3 separate regions of the Homo sapiens genome follow, and all the other regions are linked to region 2. Evidence: promoter capture Hi-C in 16 types of primary human blood cells and fetal thymus (Javierre and others, 2016). All regions are on one chromosome and are shown on one strand. The core of a region is centred on a gene start or on the middle of the fragment in contact, and the rest is flanking DNA. Distances in the headings are between cores, read along the strand shown. Region 1 overlaps CYP46A1 (cytochrome P450 family 46 subfamily A member 1). Region 2 holds the start of AK7 (adenylate kinase 7). Region 3 overlaps SETD3 (SET domain containing 3, actin N3(tau)-histidine methyltransferase).

Region 1 (2,700 bases), core at 156-2,655, 3.3 Mb after region 2:
CCACCTGTTGACTGTCTGTTCACCTGTTGACTGTCTCCCCCTCTAGAATGTGAGCCCCGGGAGGACAGGGACACTCTGTGTTCGCTTGTGTATCCCCAGTGCCTGGCGTGTTGCAGATCTCAATAAATATTTGTTGAATGAATGAATAAACAATTGTATTAGACACACTTTTTAAAATCTCAGGACATGAATATTCTGGAAGGCACCCATCTCCAGCACAAGCCAGATGTACTGGCGTTAGAAGCCTGAATCTCTGCTTGATGGGTTCAGGAAAGATCTCTGTGGCTGGTGACATAGGGAGGCACCTGTTCTCCCTGCTGGCTCTCTGCCCTTCTGGTGCTCTCTCTCTCTCTCCTTGCTTAGCTCCTCTGCCTTCTACTTTACCTGGATGCTTCTTCCCCCAGCCTTCCAGGTTTGGCTTCAATGCTAACTCCTCAGGGAGGTTCCTCCTGCTCCCCCAAAAATATTATGTTCATTTTATAAACCCTGAAATCACTGTAATTTTCCTTTACAGCATAATGTTAATTGGGCAATTATTTGTGCAAGTTTTTCCTAAGTGTCTCTTTTCCATGGGCCCCCTGTCTGTCTCAGTCACTGCTGCATCTCCGACATGTAGCAGCACATTGTACATGCATAGTAGACACTCTATGAATAGCAATTCAAGGTTGAATGGTGGAAATCTCCCGTGAGTTCCGTGGTGGACACTATCACCCTCTCAAGTTTTCAGAGAAGCCATCAGCACTTAGAATTGAATGAGTTTGGTGCTTGTTCTGATAAGTTTCATCGTTACTTGGTCTTCTCATAAACTCAAATGACCTGTTCTGGTCTCTGTGTCTTGAGAAAGCAGAATTTAAATCATCTTAAAAAAAATTGAAATGTAACTTGCATTCCACAAAATGTATTCTTTAGTGTATGATTCAGTGGTTTTTGGTACATTCACAGCACTGTGCAGCCATCGCCACCGATTTCAGAACTGTTTTGTCACCCCAGAAAGAAACCCCGTACCCATTAGCCATCACTCCTCATTTTCTCCCACCCCTCACAGCCCTGGCAACCATGAATCTGCTTTCTGTCTCTGTGGATTTGCCTGTTCTGGACATTTCATATAAATGGAATCATACAATATGTGGCCTTTTGTGTCTGGCTTCTTTCACTTAGTATAATGTTTCAAAAGTTCATTCATGTAGTAGCATGTATCCTTATTGCTTTCCTTCTTATGGCTAAATTCTTCCCAAATCTTATACCACAGAGTCTACATGTGACCTGAGTGTGTGGGGTGCGGAGGGAGCAGTGGGAGGAAGATGAATATAATCATGATTGGGCTATTTATTCTAAGGAGGTGAACTGAACAATGCATATATAAAAAGATTTTGGATTAAAAATTGGTTAGTGGTCAAATATAAAACTGCACTAAATGAAAGTTCTGGAAACTCTTCTAGCAGAAACCCGATGCCTTGACATTAAAAGCCTGGATCTTTAAACTATGATTGGCGATACTGTGGTTGACGAGAGATCTGTGTGTTGAGTCTCCAGTAGTAGCATTTGCCCCCGGGTACCCCAGGGCTTTGCCAGCTGGCAGGCAAGGAACCCTCTCGCTGCAAGAGGCAACTCTTCATCTTCCTCATTCTACAGGAGGCCCTCCCTCAGTGCCCCTCCTCTGTGCTTTTCTTACCACATCCTACTGCACCGATCCGTGTAACAGCTGAAAACTCAGACCCCCACACTCAGATCCCACACAAACACCTGTAGCTTCTTTATTTCTCTGTCACTGTTCTAACTTCCCTCATCAGCCCCTACTCTCCTGGTAATGTGGGAGTGGATGTAAACTTGACAATGAAAGGTCTTTCTCTCCCAATTTTTATTTATTTGGGGATAAATTGACTCCTCCTGGACAGTTCTGGTTCCACTCCGATTTGCCCAGTTGCTGGGGTGGGGCTGTTCAGCAAGGAGCAGGGTGGCCAGCCATGGGGGAGCCCCACAGCTGGCTCTGGCGGGTGGTGCATCTGATGAGCTTTGGGTGCCCAGCTGAGCACTCGCCACCCTGCCCCTCTGGCATGAGCCACAATCATGGTCCCTCACCCTCACGCCTACCCCTAGTGGGTAGCCCGCTCCTCCACTACTGGAGCATTCCCTTCATCCCTCTGGGTGACTTCACTGTGGGCTCTCCAGATGGCCTCTCCTCGTTCACTGGCCAAGGTTTTCTCTGCCCACAGGAGAGCTTGGGTCCCCACTCAGCCAATCATGATGTTGCAGGAAACTGGATGTGCTGGAGAGGTGTGGGGTGGTGGGCGGTGGGGGATTGCCTCTCCTCTCTCCCAGGGCTGCTCTGCTGTGTCCAGTCTATCACCAGGGACATGCCAAGTGGGCTTCTGCCTGCCGGGGCGCTGAGCAACAAGTCCCCATGTCTGGCCATGGTGTTAGCCTTACCTGCTTGTTTTTAACACCTGGGTCTTCCTGTTCTGTTGTCGCCTCCCCAGCGCCCCCTGCAGGTGCCAGAAGGAATGGGTTTTTTTTCCCCTTTCTTGGTGGGCCATGAGGACCCCACCCCTCTCTGTGCCCTCTGTCTTCCTGAGATGGCACTCACCTTCCTTCCCATGTGGCAGGGAACCCCAGGGGTTAGGGTGGAAGCTCTGGGCTCAGACTCTGTCCTCACTTAAGTGACTCAAAACTGAGAACATTCCCCCAGAATGTGAGCTTTGG
Region 2 (2,747 bases), core at 41-2,540:
GCCTGTAATACCAGCACTTTGGGAGGACGAGGCAGGAGAGTTTCTTGAGCTCCGGAGTTAGAGACTAGCCTGGGCAACAAACATAGTGAGACCCTGTCTCTATTAAAAATAATAAAAAGAACGAGAAGAAACCACGCACACACAATTGCTGCAAGTGTTAAATATTTGCATTTAAGGAGTTAATGCTTAAGGCATGAAAACAGTTCAATATGATCAGGCTATTCCAAGGGAACTGCGTATTCTTAGTCCACCACAACCTTTATGGTCCAGTGATCACCGAGGTGAATGTTATCTTTTAATTTGTGGATTTATCTCAGCAACTGCATGTATAATCTCTTGTGGAACGGTCAAGTCTAAATTTCTTCCCTTGGTGAATGTGAGCGAATCCCGGGCGCCTACGGGCTCTGGTCGCCCCCAGCCGACACCAGGGGTCTTCCCGGAACGTGCGTCTGGAAACAACCCCCAAGGGAGCTGAGCCGGCGGACCAAGCCGCACCTGCCGCAAGGCGGGACCACGCTAGCGTCGCTCGGGTGTTCGGGAGCCCGAAACTCCATGGCAACAGCTTTTCTTCGCAGCTGAGGCTTACGTCCCGTCGCCCCGGCCAGACCACCCCATGGGAGCGTGCTGAGTAACTCCCACGTGTCGGGGAGAGGCCTAGGCTGTGGGCCATTCCCTCTTCTTCAGAATTCTCATTATTTTTAGTCATCGGGTCAAGCGGACACAGGGATGTGTTTCCAGACTTTCCGAACAATGGAGATTAAAAAGGCACAGCAATCACATGGCCCCCCGGGACAGACGCCCAGGGAGCTTCGGAAAGAAACCATGCACTGCCCAAGGGCTCCCAGTGGGCAGCAAGCCAGGGTGAGACCCGGGCTGCACGCGCGGCGCCGCGGAAAGCACTCGCAGGGACATCCGCCTGGCGCCCAGCAGCCGACAGCGCGCGCAGTTGCGAGCCCTGAGCCCCGCTTCGCCCGGCGCGCCCCGCCCAGCCCACTGCACTACACACCCCGCCCTGCCCGGCATGCCCCGCCCAACCCCCCGGCACGACTCGCCCCGCCCTACCCGGCACGCCCCGCCCAGCGACCGGCACAGCCTGCCCCGTCCCGCCTGGCACGCCCTGATTAGCGCCGGGCACGACACGCACCGCCCCGCCCGGCACTCCCTGCTTCGCCCACGACACGCCCCTCCCCGCCCGGCAAACTGCCCGGAGCCAAGGCCCCGCCCCCAGAGAGAACCTGCCCCGCCTCCCTGGCCCGGGCCCCGCCTCCTTGGCAAGCGAGTGGCGCTTTCACCTTAGCAACCAGCGCGGCTCCCACCATGGCTGAAGAAGAGGAAACTGCTGCTCTCACGGAGAAGGTTATCCGGACCCAGAGGGTGTTTATAAACCTGTTGGATTCCTACAGCAGCGGAAACATCGGGAAGGTGAGCGGCGGCGGCGGCCCAGAGCCTCACGCCAGCTCTCAGCTCCCAGCCCTCGGCCCCCGGTCCGCAAACCCAGCGAGGGTCTGCGCCCCAGGGCGCTGTCGGGGCCTTTCCTCAGGGAGGGTCCCGCGTCCTGGGCACCACCAATGCCCCCTGGACCCCAGTCCGCACCCAGGCTGGTCAAGAGATTCTACATGGAAGCTCAGGTGTCTGGAAATCACTGGTCCATCCCCTGTTCCTCCTTTTAATGAGGGGAAACTGAGGCTAAGAGGCAGGGACTTGCCCAAGATCACATAGAGAGTTGAGGCCAGAACCTGGACAGAGACTCCAGGTCTCTTGCCCCCTCCTAGGTTCTCTTTCTACCCTTCCATCGATTTTGAAGCAGGCAGCTAAACGAGAAAATAAATCAATTTTTTTTTTTTGAGACGGAGCCTTGCTCTGTCGCCCAGGCTGGAGTGCAGTGGCGCGATCTCGGCTCACTGCAAGCTCCGCCTCCCGGGTTCACGCCATTCTCCTGCCTCAGCCTCCGAGTAGCTGGGACTACAGGCGCCCGACACCGCGCCCGGCTAATTTTTTGTATTTTTAGCAGAGACGGGGTTTCACTGTGTTAGCCAGGATGGTCTCGATCGATCTCCTGACCTCGTGACCCACCCGTCTCGGCCTCCCAAATTACAGGCCGAGTAAATCCAAAAGGGATTACAGGCGTGAGTAAATCAAATTTTTATATTGCCCATGAAGCGTTTTTCATTCATCCATCCCTTCAATATATGGTTTTTGAGCATCTATTATGGACCAGACACTGTTTGGGTCCCCGAGTTCCATTAAGTTTCCTCACCTTTCTGTGTCTTTATCCCTGGAAAATGAAGATATTCAGAAAAAGGGCTCTGGGGCCCTTCATGCTAATATGATCAGTTGTCAAAAGAAAGCCATGATTTTATCATTCCCTGTGGGTAGGACCCGTCCATCTGAATTCTGTCCTCTAGAGCTACAGAGAAATCTAATCTCACCCTGGACAGACTTCTCTGAGGCTAATGACTGCACTTTCGAACAGGACAAATCTGCTTAAAATAGGATGAGGCTACAGTACGTACAATCTGTATTAGTTTTCTAGGGCTGTGGTAACCAATTGCCACAAACTGGATGACCTTATAAAACAGAAATTATTCTCTCGCAGTTCTTGAGGGCAGAAGTCCAAGATCAAGGTGTCAGCAGGGTTGGTTTCTACTGGAAGCTCCAGGGGAAGAACTGTTGCTTGCCCCTCTCCTAGCTTCTGGTAGTTGCCAATAATTCTTGGCACCCCTTGGCAGTAGACTCCAATCTCTGCC
Region 3 (2,700 bases), core at 29-2,528, 3.1 Mb after region 2:
GAGAGTCCTCTCAGAGCAGGCTACCAGCGTTTGCAAACTAGAAGCACATTAGTAAAAAGGGCCAGCTTGTAGTTCATTGTCCAGCAAGAGAAAATGACAAATACTTAGACCTACTAAAGTCAGCTTAACCTTTAGTCATGAAAGATATACCATTGAGAACTAAGAATAAAAGTATAACCCTTCCAGGTCATGAAGAGCCAAACCAACCTTAGACTGCAGGACTGCAGGTGCACACTATATGAAGAAGCAAAGTTTTGATTTGGCTTCATCAATAGTTTTTAAATTAAGCCAACTTGAAATAAAAGCTATATACATACTGTATGACCATTCCTAATGACTTCCTAAAGTTTAGAAAAACCGAGTGATTGATTTCCACATGAAGACAACAGTCATGTATAATTTTTGACATATTTGAAGTGCTTGCTGGAGGAGGAGATGTAACTGAGTGTAACATTCTTGTGTAGTAAGCATGCTACAAAGTGAAAATAATAAACGGAAAGCAATATCACCTGTAGCAATGAAATGAGGTTACCACTTCTTGCAAATAAAACATAGCAAGGATAGACCATTTAAGGAACAACCAAATCAAACCTAATTCAGGTTGTCACACCAACCAAAGACAAGGAAAGCGAGCAAGTAGTTCACCTGCCCACTTGTCGTATCTCAAGAACAGCAGCCCAGGAGCTGACTCTTGAGTGATTCAGATTGTGCAGAATCAGGAGAAGGAGCCACACTGCCTCTCAGTCCTGGTGGGGACTGTGGTACTGGCCCTGTTCCTTCTGACTGCTGTTCAACTGCAAATGAAAGATAACGGTGGCCACACCACCAAAATACAGAAAGGTGTCATCACAGGTAATTCAAATACTTGGAGCCTTATAGAGATTTCTATGAGAAACTTTCACTGAGAACAAATTAAAATTAATACACAGTACACGTTGAAAAACATAAATGTTATAATTTGCTAAATTAACTGTCAATATTTTACACTAACATATATAGAAAAAAATTAACCCTCATTTTCTTGAAAAATTTATACACAGAGTAACTTATTGCATTAGATATGCTTTAAGGCTTTTAAAATTTCATTGTGATCTTTTGTTTACAAAAAAACTTGGTGATTTCAATAACTCAGGAACAACTGCTGCTTGTATTAACACTGGGCACTGATGAAATCAGATATATATATGTAACCGCATTTCATTGATATTTCTGTAAAAACAAACGATGAAATGTATTTTATATTTTCAATTTAAAAAGTAAAATGTTTAAGTATCCTTAATAAGACATCAAATGGAATATTTATGGACTCAATTCCTCTTTCCTCCCCACTCTGTGAAATATATACTTAAATTGCAAACAGCTGCTCACCTGGATGACTTTATAGAAGTAGGCGTACTGTCGAGCTGTGTTTTTATACTGGCTGAAGACATCATGTATAGCTTGTGTGGACTGAAGATACCGAACTTCATCTTCTTCAAAGTAGAGAGGAGTGTCATATTCACTGGGGAGGGTTTGAATATAGGGCTGCCAGAAGGAGTTAGGGCTGGCTCGCTCACACAGCAAATGAAAGGCCAGTGCGATGTTTCCCATGGCTTGAAGGATTCGGTCTTGAGAATATAAGGGCCCTGAATTAACCCAGAAGTTAACAGCGTAAGTTCCACAAACTTCTTAAAAACTTCATTTAAATATACGTTTACAAATTACAGAAAAACTAAAAGGTCTTGTAACATTTAAAGTCAGGTACAGGCTGGGCGCAGTGGCTCACACCTGTAATCCTAGCACTTTGGGAGGTCAAGGTGGGAGGATTGCTTGAGCTCAGGACTTTGAGACCAGCCTGGGCAATATAGCAAAACCCCATCACTACAAAAAAAAAAAAAAAAAAAAAATTAGCCAGATGTAGTGGTGCACACCTGTGGGAGAATCATTTGAGCCTGGGAGATCAAGGCTGTAGTGAGCTATGATGGTGCCAGTGTACTCCAGCCTAGGTGACAAAGCGAGACCCTATCTCAAAAATAATAATAATAATAAATAAAGGTCATGTGCATCTTTTTTATAACATTAAATGAAAAACACTTAATGCATATTTGAGGGAATATTTCGCCAGTCGAGAAAAACCAAGTATTATCCTTAGTGCCATAAAATGGAATTTTACATATTTTTGTCATTTGTGCTTTGCCTTGAAGAGTCAGAAATTATTCTCACCCAACACTGAATTTTTAGCAGATTCAACAGTCATTAGCAATTTTCGTGGAACCCATAAAAACAATTCTTCTGCCTAGGGAAAAAAATAATAATAGGAGAATCATCAAAACACGGTACAGTCTTCAATCCAACCATATCTACGGTCAGAAATCCAATCACACATGAAGTACAACTTAAGGCTGCATATCAGCACTTCAAATAAATATTCAAATACATTTTAAAATGTAAGCATTTATCTTATAGTTAAATGAGTAGAAGTATAGCTTAAAATCCTGTTTCCAACAGAAAAACTAAAAACTACATATGCTGAGAAGCAAATAATCAAAAAAGGGACTTTCAACTTTAACCTGAAGCAAATATAACATTTGGAGTAGAGCATAAAGGCGTTTACTGTATACTTTACTGTACTTTTAAGTTCTAAAACCAGACCAAATCAAAACAAAATTCCTGCCTCCAACAAAAACCCTAATCTGTCGATGTGAATTACTACTACTACTG

What was found. The method cuts DNA at HindIII sites, captures the fragments that hold promoters and counts their contacts. A CHiCAGO score of 5 or more calls a contact.
Region 1: a fragment that was not itself captured here is called in contact with the fragment with the promoter of AK7 in region 2 in 1 of 17 cell types (fetal thymus); the score reaches 5.3 in fetal thymus.
Region 3: a fragment that was not itself captured here is called in contact with the fragment with the promoter of AK7 in region 2 in 1 of 17 cell types (total CD4 T cells); the score reaches 10.1 in total CD4 T cells.

What each region holds. Positions count from the first base shown.
Region 1 is chr14:99,685,478-99,688,177 of GRCh38, forward strand. All of the region lies in intron 1 of CYP46A1 (cytochrome P450 family 46 subfamily A member 1), which reads left to right. Among named protein-coding and RNA genes, the nearest start is that of CYP46A1, 2.5 kb to the left of the region's middle. The HindIII fragment of the contact is 3,529 bases long and covers 1-2,700 here.
Region 2 is chr14:96,390,838-96,393,584 of GRCh38, forward strand. AK7 (adenylate kinase 7) reads left to right here and starts at 1,291. Exons shown (of 18, transcript NM_152327.5): 1 at 1,291-1,422. The coding sequence starts at 1,318. RefSeq lists a silencer at 851-1,360. The HindIII fragment of the contact is 12,427 bases long and covers 1-2,747 here.
Region 3 is chr14:99,456,911-99,459,610 of GRCh38, forward strand. SETD3 (SET domain containing 3, actin N3(tau)-histidine methyltransferase) reads right to left here. Exons shown (of 13, transcript NM_032233.3): 5 at 2,203-2,275; 6 at 1,369-1,625. Among named protein-coding and RNA genes, the nearest start is that of SETD3, 23 kb to the right of the region's middle. The HindIII fragment of the contact is 3,071 bases long and covers 1-2,700 here.